2 separate regions of the Homo sapiens genome follow, and region 1 is linked to region 2. Evidence: promoter capture Hi-C in 16 types of primary human blood cells and fetal thymus (Javierre and others, 2016). All regions are on one chromosome and are shown on one strand. Each heading gives the region's core, a stretch centred on a gene start or on the middle of the fragment in contact. The rest is flanking DNA. Distances are from core to core; before and after follow the strand shown. Region 1 has its middle 2.5 kb from the start of HM13. Region 2 holds the start of DEFB118 (defensin beta 118).

What was found. Contacts are between HindIII fragments. The CHiCAGO score rates a contact against its expected background, and 5 or more counts as called.
Region 1: a contact is called between a fragment that was not itself captured here and the fragment with the promoter of DEFB118 in region 2, in 2 of 17 cell types (M1 macrophages and endothelial precursors). The highest score is 6.1, in M1 macrophages.

What each region holds. Positions count from the first base shown.
Region 1 is chr20:31,510,132-31,513,780 of GRCh38, reverse strand. It overlaps the pseudogene CD24P3. Among named protein-coding and RNA genes, the nearest start is that of HM13, 2.5 kb to the left of the region's middle. The HindIII fragment of the contact is 2,150 bases long and covers 646-2,795 here.
Region 2 is chr20:31,366,656-31,370,324 of GRCh38, reverse strand. It overlaps DEFB118 (defensin beta 118), which reads right to left and starts at 1,724. Exons shown (of 2, transcript NM_054112.3): 1 at 1,617-1,724. The coding sequence starts at 1,674. The HindIII fragment of the contact is 1,593 bases long and covers 1,145-2,737 here.

The sequences.
Region 1 (3,649 bases), core at 471-2,970, 140 kb before region 2:
GCACCTGTAATCCCAGCTACTCGGGAGGCTGAGGCAGGAGAATCGCCTGAACCCGGGAGGCGGAGGTTGCAGTGAGCCAAGACTGAGCCATTGCACTCCAGCCTGGGCAACAAGAGCGAAACTCCGTCTGAAAAAAAAAAAAAAAAAAAAAAAAAAAAAGGCCAGGCGCGGTGGCTCACGCCTGTAATCCCAGCACTTTGGGAGGCCGAGGTGGGCAGATTGCGAGGTCAGGAGATCGAGACCATCCTGGCTAACACGGTGAAACCCCGTCTGTACTAAAAATATAAAAAATTAGCCGGGCGTGGTGGCGGGCGCCTACAATCCCAGCTACTTGGGAGGCTGAGGCAGGAGACTGGCTTGAACCTGGGAGGCGGAGGTTGCAGTGAGCCCACTGCACTCCAGCCTGGGCGACAGAGTGAGACTCTGTCTCAAAAAAAAAAAAAAAAAAAACAAGAAAAATTTGTAATTTGTAAAACGTTAATGTATAGTTATGTGTTACATAGCATGTTAATGCAGATAAATAGAGAAAAATAAAGCAAAAGAAAGTAAGGTGTGTGTGGAGTTTGCAAATGTATTGAGAGCCTACTATGTGCCAGGCAATTATAATACCTTACGAGTTCATGCCCCTGTACAATTTATAAAGCTTTGTGGCTCTTTTCAGAATTTGAAGAATCTGTTTATTTATGTGATTCTTATTTTTGATATTGTTAAAAAAGTTAAAAATATATATTTTCTTAGACATGGGGTTTTGCCATGTTGGCCAGGCTGGTCTCAAACTCCTAGGTTCAAGTGATCCTCCTGCCTCAGCCTCCTAAAGTGTTGGGATTACAGGTATGAGCCACTGCTTGCAGCCTACTGTGGCTATATTAGATACTGGAACATCTAAGCATCACTGTGTGACTGTGCAAACAAAAAACTTCAAGGAGGGCCTATTATTATTATTATTATTATTATTATTTTGAGACAGGGTCTCACTCTGTCACCCAGGCTGGAGTGCAGTGGCATGATCACAGCTCACTGCAGCCTCTACCTTCTGGGCTTGGGTGATTCTCCCACCTCAGCCTCCCCAGTAGCTGGGACCACAGGTGTGTGCCACCACGCCCGGCTAACTTTTTGTGTTTTTAGTAGAGATGGGGTTTCGGCATGTTGCCCAGGCTGGTCTCAAACTCCTGGGCTCAAGCAATCTGCCCACTTCGGCCTCCCAAAGTTCTGCAATTATAGGCATGAGCTGCCACCTCCCGCAAGAGTGCCTATTTTATTTTATTTTATTTATTTTTTATTTTTTTTTTTGAGATGGAGTCTTGCTATGTCACCCAGGCTGGAGTGCAGTGGCACGATTTCGGCTCACTGCAACCTCCAGCTTCCGGGTTCACGCCATTCTCCTGCCTCAGCCTCCCGAGTAGCTAGGACTACACGCACCCGCCACCACGCTCGGCTAATTTTTGGTATTTTTAGTAGAGTCAGGGTTTCACCGTGTTAGCCAGGATGGTCTCGATCTCCTGACCTCGTGATCCGCCCGCCTCGGCCTCCCAAAGTGCTGGGATTACAGGCATGAGCCACCGCGCCCGGCCAAGAGTGCCTATTTTAAAAAAGATTTCTATGTGTTGAGGCAGTTGTTTACTGCAGAATTAAGCCCACTTTAGGCTTACTACCAGCTTCTATCTAAAAATATTGACTGATAACCGAAAGTGTTCTAAAGGTGGTTATTCTGATCTATAGTTTTTTTGTTTGTTGTGAGACTGAGTTTTGCTCTTTTTGCTCAGGCTGGAGTGCAATGGCGCAATCTCGGCTCACCACAACCTCTGCCTCCCTGGTTCAAGCGATTCTCCTGCCTCAGCCTCCCGAGTAGCTGGGATTACAGGCATGCGTCACCACGCCCAGTTAATTTTGTATTTTCAGTAGAGATGGGGTTTCTCCATGTTGGTCAGGCTGGTCTCGAACGCCTGACCTCAGTGATCCACTCGCCTCGGCCTCCCAAAGTGCTAGGATTACAGGCGTGAACCACTGCGCCTAGCCTCTGATCTATAGTTTTTTAAAAAAGTATTTACAGAAAGTATAGAAGTTTTTGTGAATTTAATACAAGTTAGCCTCCAATTTTCTCTTCTCAAATGTTTGATTTATAGTTTTTGCTCCTTTACATATTTGCTTTTTTAATTTCAAGATTTGTAATTTTACCTTCAAAACAGTTCATTTTTAAAATTGTAAAGCATGTTTAACATACGCAGAAATAGGCTGGGTATGGTGGTTCACGCCTGTAATCCCAGCATGCTGGGAGGCCGAGGTGGGTGGATCGTGTGAGCCCAGGAGTTAGAGACCAGCCCGGGCAACATAGCAAGACCACATCTAAAAAATAAATAAATAAATAAAAAAAAGTCAGTATTTTGAAATTATTTGAGCTCAATGCAGTTCTACTCTTTGGAAGCAGATTAGCTAACTGAATCTGGTGCTCTTGTTGAATAGAAATAGGTGATGGGAAATGTCTATCATTTGACTTTATAAGGATAAGCAAGATTTACCATGATGCTTTGATTTGGGGGTGGATTCCAGTCCATCATTGCCCTGGCACATGTCAATTAGTACACACAAAATTCAATGTCAAATCCAGAGCCTCAGAGGAAAAAATTTATTCCCCAAGAGAACAATGATAACATAACAAAGTAAAATGTTATCTAGATTATATTGGTATTAAAATTATCTCTTATATAAAGTATATTGACTGTAACTATACATAGAAGATTCATAGTAACACCTGGAAGTTCCTTCTCATGTTATATATAAATTGAATTATGAAAGCTTTTTATATTACCTGTTTATGGCCTTATAGATTTAATGTACCAAATGAAAACTTCCCACTCTACCTCTAGATAAGATAAAATCTATATTTATTTTCAAGGTAGAGTTTTAAGTGGCCATATTTCTTAAGCCGTATTCAAAGGAAAATTTTATTTCAAGGCACATTTTCACTCTGTCACCCAGGCTGGAACACAATGGCATGATCACAGCTCACTGCAGCCTTGACCTCCTGGGCTCAAGCGACCCTCCCACTTCAGCCTCCCGAGTAGCTGGGACTATAGGCATATACCACCATGCCCAGCTAATTTTTCCATTTTTTATAGAGATGGGGTTTCACCATGTTGCCCAGGCTGGTCTTGAATTCCTGGGCTCAAGCGATCTGCTCACCTTGGCCTCCCAAAGTGCTGGGATTACAGGCATGACTACCATGCCTGGCCACTCAAGGAAATTGTGTCTTAACTAAGTTTGAATGCTGTTCCTCTTCATTTTGTATATGAAACTTCAGCTGATTTAATATTGACATTCATCATCTAGTCAAACCCTTCACATGTTCTTCAAACCAACCAAATTTGGGGTTCTTGACATTTTCTGTGTCAATAAAATTAGATGTGGATCTTATCTTTTTTTTTGAGATGGCGTTTTGTTCTGTCACCCAGGCTGGAGTGCAGTAGTGTGATCTTGGCTCACTGCAACCTCTGTGTCCCGGGCTCAAGCAATTTTCCTGCCTCAGCCTCCTGAGTAGCTGGGACAACAGGCACCCGCCATCACGCCCGGCTAATTTTTGTGTTTTTAGTAGAGATGGGGTTTCACCATGTTGGTCAGGCTGGTCTCAAACTCCTGACCTCGTGATCTGCCC
Region 2 (3,669 bases), core at 475-2,974:
AATTATTCCTGTTTGTGTCTGGAATTGTAACTGAAGAATTACTAAAAACCCCCAGAGTTGGCAATTTCTGCTGGCAGTGTCCTTTAAGATACACAACTTCTGATTACTGACTTCTGGTTACCCAGAATCCCTTGGGGTAGGAACACAAGCATAGGAAGAGCCAGCAGCAGGAGTTTCATGGTCCCTGGGAAACAGGAGAGGTTTCCCTGTTTCCCTACCCTGAACGCCAGGGTAGACCCAGGCGTTCAGAACGCTGTGTGCAGTGGGAGTCTGAACAAGAGTTATTGGCCTCTCTGCAATGAGGGCAGAGGAATAGAGGAATTAATGGAACAAATATATATTTTTAATTTTCTTGCCCACCCCCACCAGACTTACATTTAACTTGGTTATTTGCCCTCTAGGAATCTATCCTATTTAAGCCCATATCCATATATGTAAATATATTAATGTTTGTACAAGCATATTCATTGATGTCTTGTTCGAAAATTAAGAAATGTCTCAAATGGCTATATATGACTTTATATGGCTTATCCTACAGCAGAACTATACAACTTTACAAACAATAAGGCAGATCTTTAGATGGTGACATGGAAAGATGGCCACAAAATAATAAGTGAAAGAAGAGTGCTGCATAGGGCCGGGTGCGGTGGCTCATGCCTGTAATCCCAGCACTTTGGGAGACCGAGGCGGATGGATCACCCGAGGTCAAGAGTTTGAGACCAGCCTTGCCAACATGGTGAAACCCCATCTCTACTAAAAATACAAAAATTAGTCGGACATGATGGTGCATGCCTGTAATCCCAGCTGCTTGGGAGGCTGAGGCAGGAGAATTGCTTGAACCCAGGAGGCAGAGGTTGCAGTGAGCTGAGATTGCGCCACTGCACTCCAGCCTGGGTGACAGATTGAGATTCCATCTTCAAAAAAAAAAAAAAAAAAAAACACAAGAGTGCTGCATAGCCATGCAGGGAGTGTGCTTACTTCGTTATAAAACAGAAATATTTAGATTCATTTTTATGTAAGTTCGATCATACATTGAAATGCACCTTGAAAAACATAAAGGAGAAACAGGCTCTCTTCACCAGTGATTTCAAAGTTCTGGTCATGCCTTTAGATATACTTAAGAAAGCAGTGATTATGAAAAGCTTAGATTTTCACTGTAGAAGGAAGAAGAAAAGCCAGTTCTGTCTTCCGTGTAACAGCTCTACCAGTGTTTTCTGACTTGTTCACCAAATTCTAGAATATTAGAAAACAAAAAGAACCTCATTATAGCTATAGCAGGACTTTTAGGGCCAAGAAAACATAGCAAAGTGGGCTGCAGGAATCATTTTCAAAAGCTGGCACAATCTGGAAAGAGAACAGATGTGAGCCGAGCTTTCCCCTAGTTTCTTAGGCGGCAACTTGGAATATAGAACCAAGGACAACTCTGGATGGTGGGACTGCCCCTGTCTATTGAGGATAACTTGCTCTACTCCCAGGTTTTACCCCAGCCAGGAGCATAGTCCCAGTGTGGGAACTGTGGAGCTGCCCATGTTGGGGAGTACCGTGACACATTGGAATTTTCATGAGCCAGAACCCACTATACCTCTATTTTTGTATCTTCCCTGACCTCTGATTACCTGGGATCACTTGGGGTAGGAGCACAAGCATAGGAAGAGCCAGCAGCAGGAGTTTCATGGTCCTTGGGAAGCAGGAGGTGGTAGATCCAGGAGTTCAGAATACTGTGTGCAGTGTGAGTCTGAACAAGAGTTTTATTGGCCTCTCTGCAGTGGGGGCAGAGGGATGGGCACAGAACCAGCCGGATATCTAAGAGCTTATCCATGCATAACATCAGTCTAGTGTGTGGCACATAAGCTGAGCATTTGATCCAGGCACTGGGAGGGCATGCAGAGGGTTACAAGTCACAGGTTTTGAGGAGGTGTTTGGAGCAATGGAGAGGGAAGATTCACACTGGGACATCTTCCCTAGCTTTCCCCGATCTCTCATTAGGGCTCAGCCCTTCTTCACAGCCCCTCTCACTCTAGCATAAACCTACTTTTGAATGGTCTACTTATCTGTGTGTCTCCCCGCACCAGCCTGTGAAATTCCTGAGAGTAGGGAACGTGTCTTTCATTTTTGAGCCCCCAAGGCACGAAGCATGCTCTCAGTGAAGGTTTGTGGAAATAAACGATAATGAACACATGTCAATCTATAAGCCAAATCCCTCTCTTACATATGTGCCCAACAGGGAAAATGACTTGCCCAAGAAGTCACTTGCTGCAGAAGTTTGAGGGAGATCATTTATAAGACTCAAAGGGGGATGCTACCCAATGTCATTAAAAAAAAAATTCCCTAGCTGGGTGTGGTGGTGGGTGCCTGTAATCCAAGCTACTCAGGAGGCTGAGTCAGGAGAATCGCTTAAACCCAGGAGGTGGAAGTTGCAGTGAGCTGAGATCGCACCACTGCACTCCAGCCTGGGCAACAGAGTGAGACTCTGTCTCAAAAAAAAAAAAAAAAATCCCTGCTGAAGACAGATCTACAATAATTTGGGATGTTACCTTTGACAACGGCACCATGAGGGTCATCAGAGGTCTGGGAGCTGTCCATGAAGACCCCAACATTTAGACTTGCCTTTGGGATGTGGAACCTCGATGTCACCCCCAGAGTCAGCCTAGGTCCTGCATTGCTTTAGTTGCATTTTCATCGTGTTTCAACTTTTGCTCCCTCTTGTTTACTCGGCTCTAAAAGTCTCTGTAAAGCTTTTACAGAGGAGGTTGCTGATTTTTCTCTTCTGGAATTGATAACTTTCACTGTGAGAATAATTGATGGGAATTAGCAGGGTTGCCATGTGATTGAGGAGACTTCTCTTCTGGATGGAACCATGTGGAAAGCGTAGCATGGTGGTGGGCTATTTTCAAATTAATTTTGTTTTATGTTTTTATTTTTTTGAGACAGGATCTCGCTCTGTAGCCCAGGCTAGGGTGCAGTGGTGCGATCACAGCTCATTGCAGCCTCAAGCTCCTGAGCTCAAGCAATCCTCCCACCTCAGCCTCCTGAGTAGCTGGGACTGCCCAGGTATTCACCACCATGCCCGAATATTTAAAAAAATTTTTTTGGGAGAGACAGGTCTTACTATGTTGCCCAGGCTAGTCTCAAACTCCTGGGTTCAAGTGGTCCTCCCTCCTTGGCCTCCCAAAGTGCTGGAATTACAGGCATGGGCCACTGCACCTGGCCTCCAAATTAATTTTAGATTAGTATGTTCTAACAGGCAGAACTCTCTTACTATGGAATTGTTTCCCAGAGAGGGAGGGGGTACTCTATAACTCATTTTTCAAGCAGGGTCTAAGTGATTAAATAGGATGGATTTCTATATAGAATAAAGAATGTCTTTTCTAGTTCCTTCTAAGCATACAAATCTATGTTCTTAATTTTATGAATGGTTTCTCTACATGTCCTGATAAGTGCAGAGATCCCTGACCCTTTCTAAACTGAAGAACTTGAGAAACACCTTTTTTCGCTCTTGCTACAGAAAAGCAGGAAAATCTGGATTACCCCTAACCCAATTCACAGAGCCTGATCTCATATCTGAGACGGTAGTGGTGGTGGTGGGAATGGAGAAGGGCTGTAAAAAAAAAAAAAAAAAAAAGGCCTGAAGCGGAAGGACTCATCACAGGGGAGAAGCTAGGTGGGTGT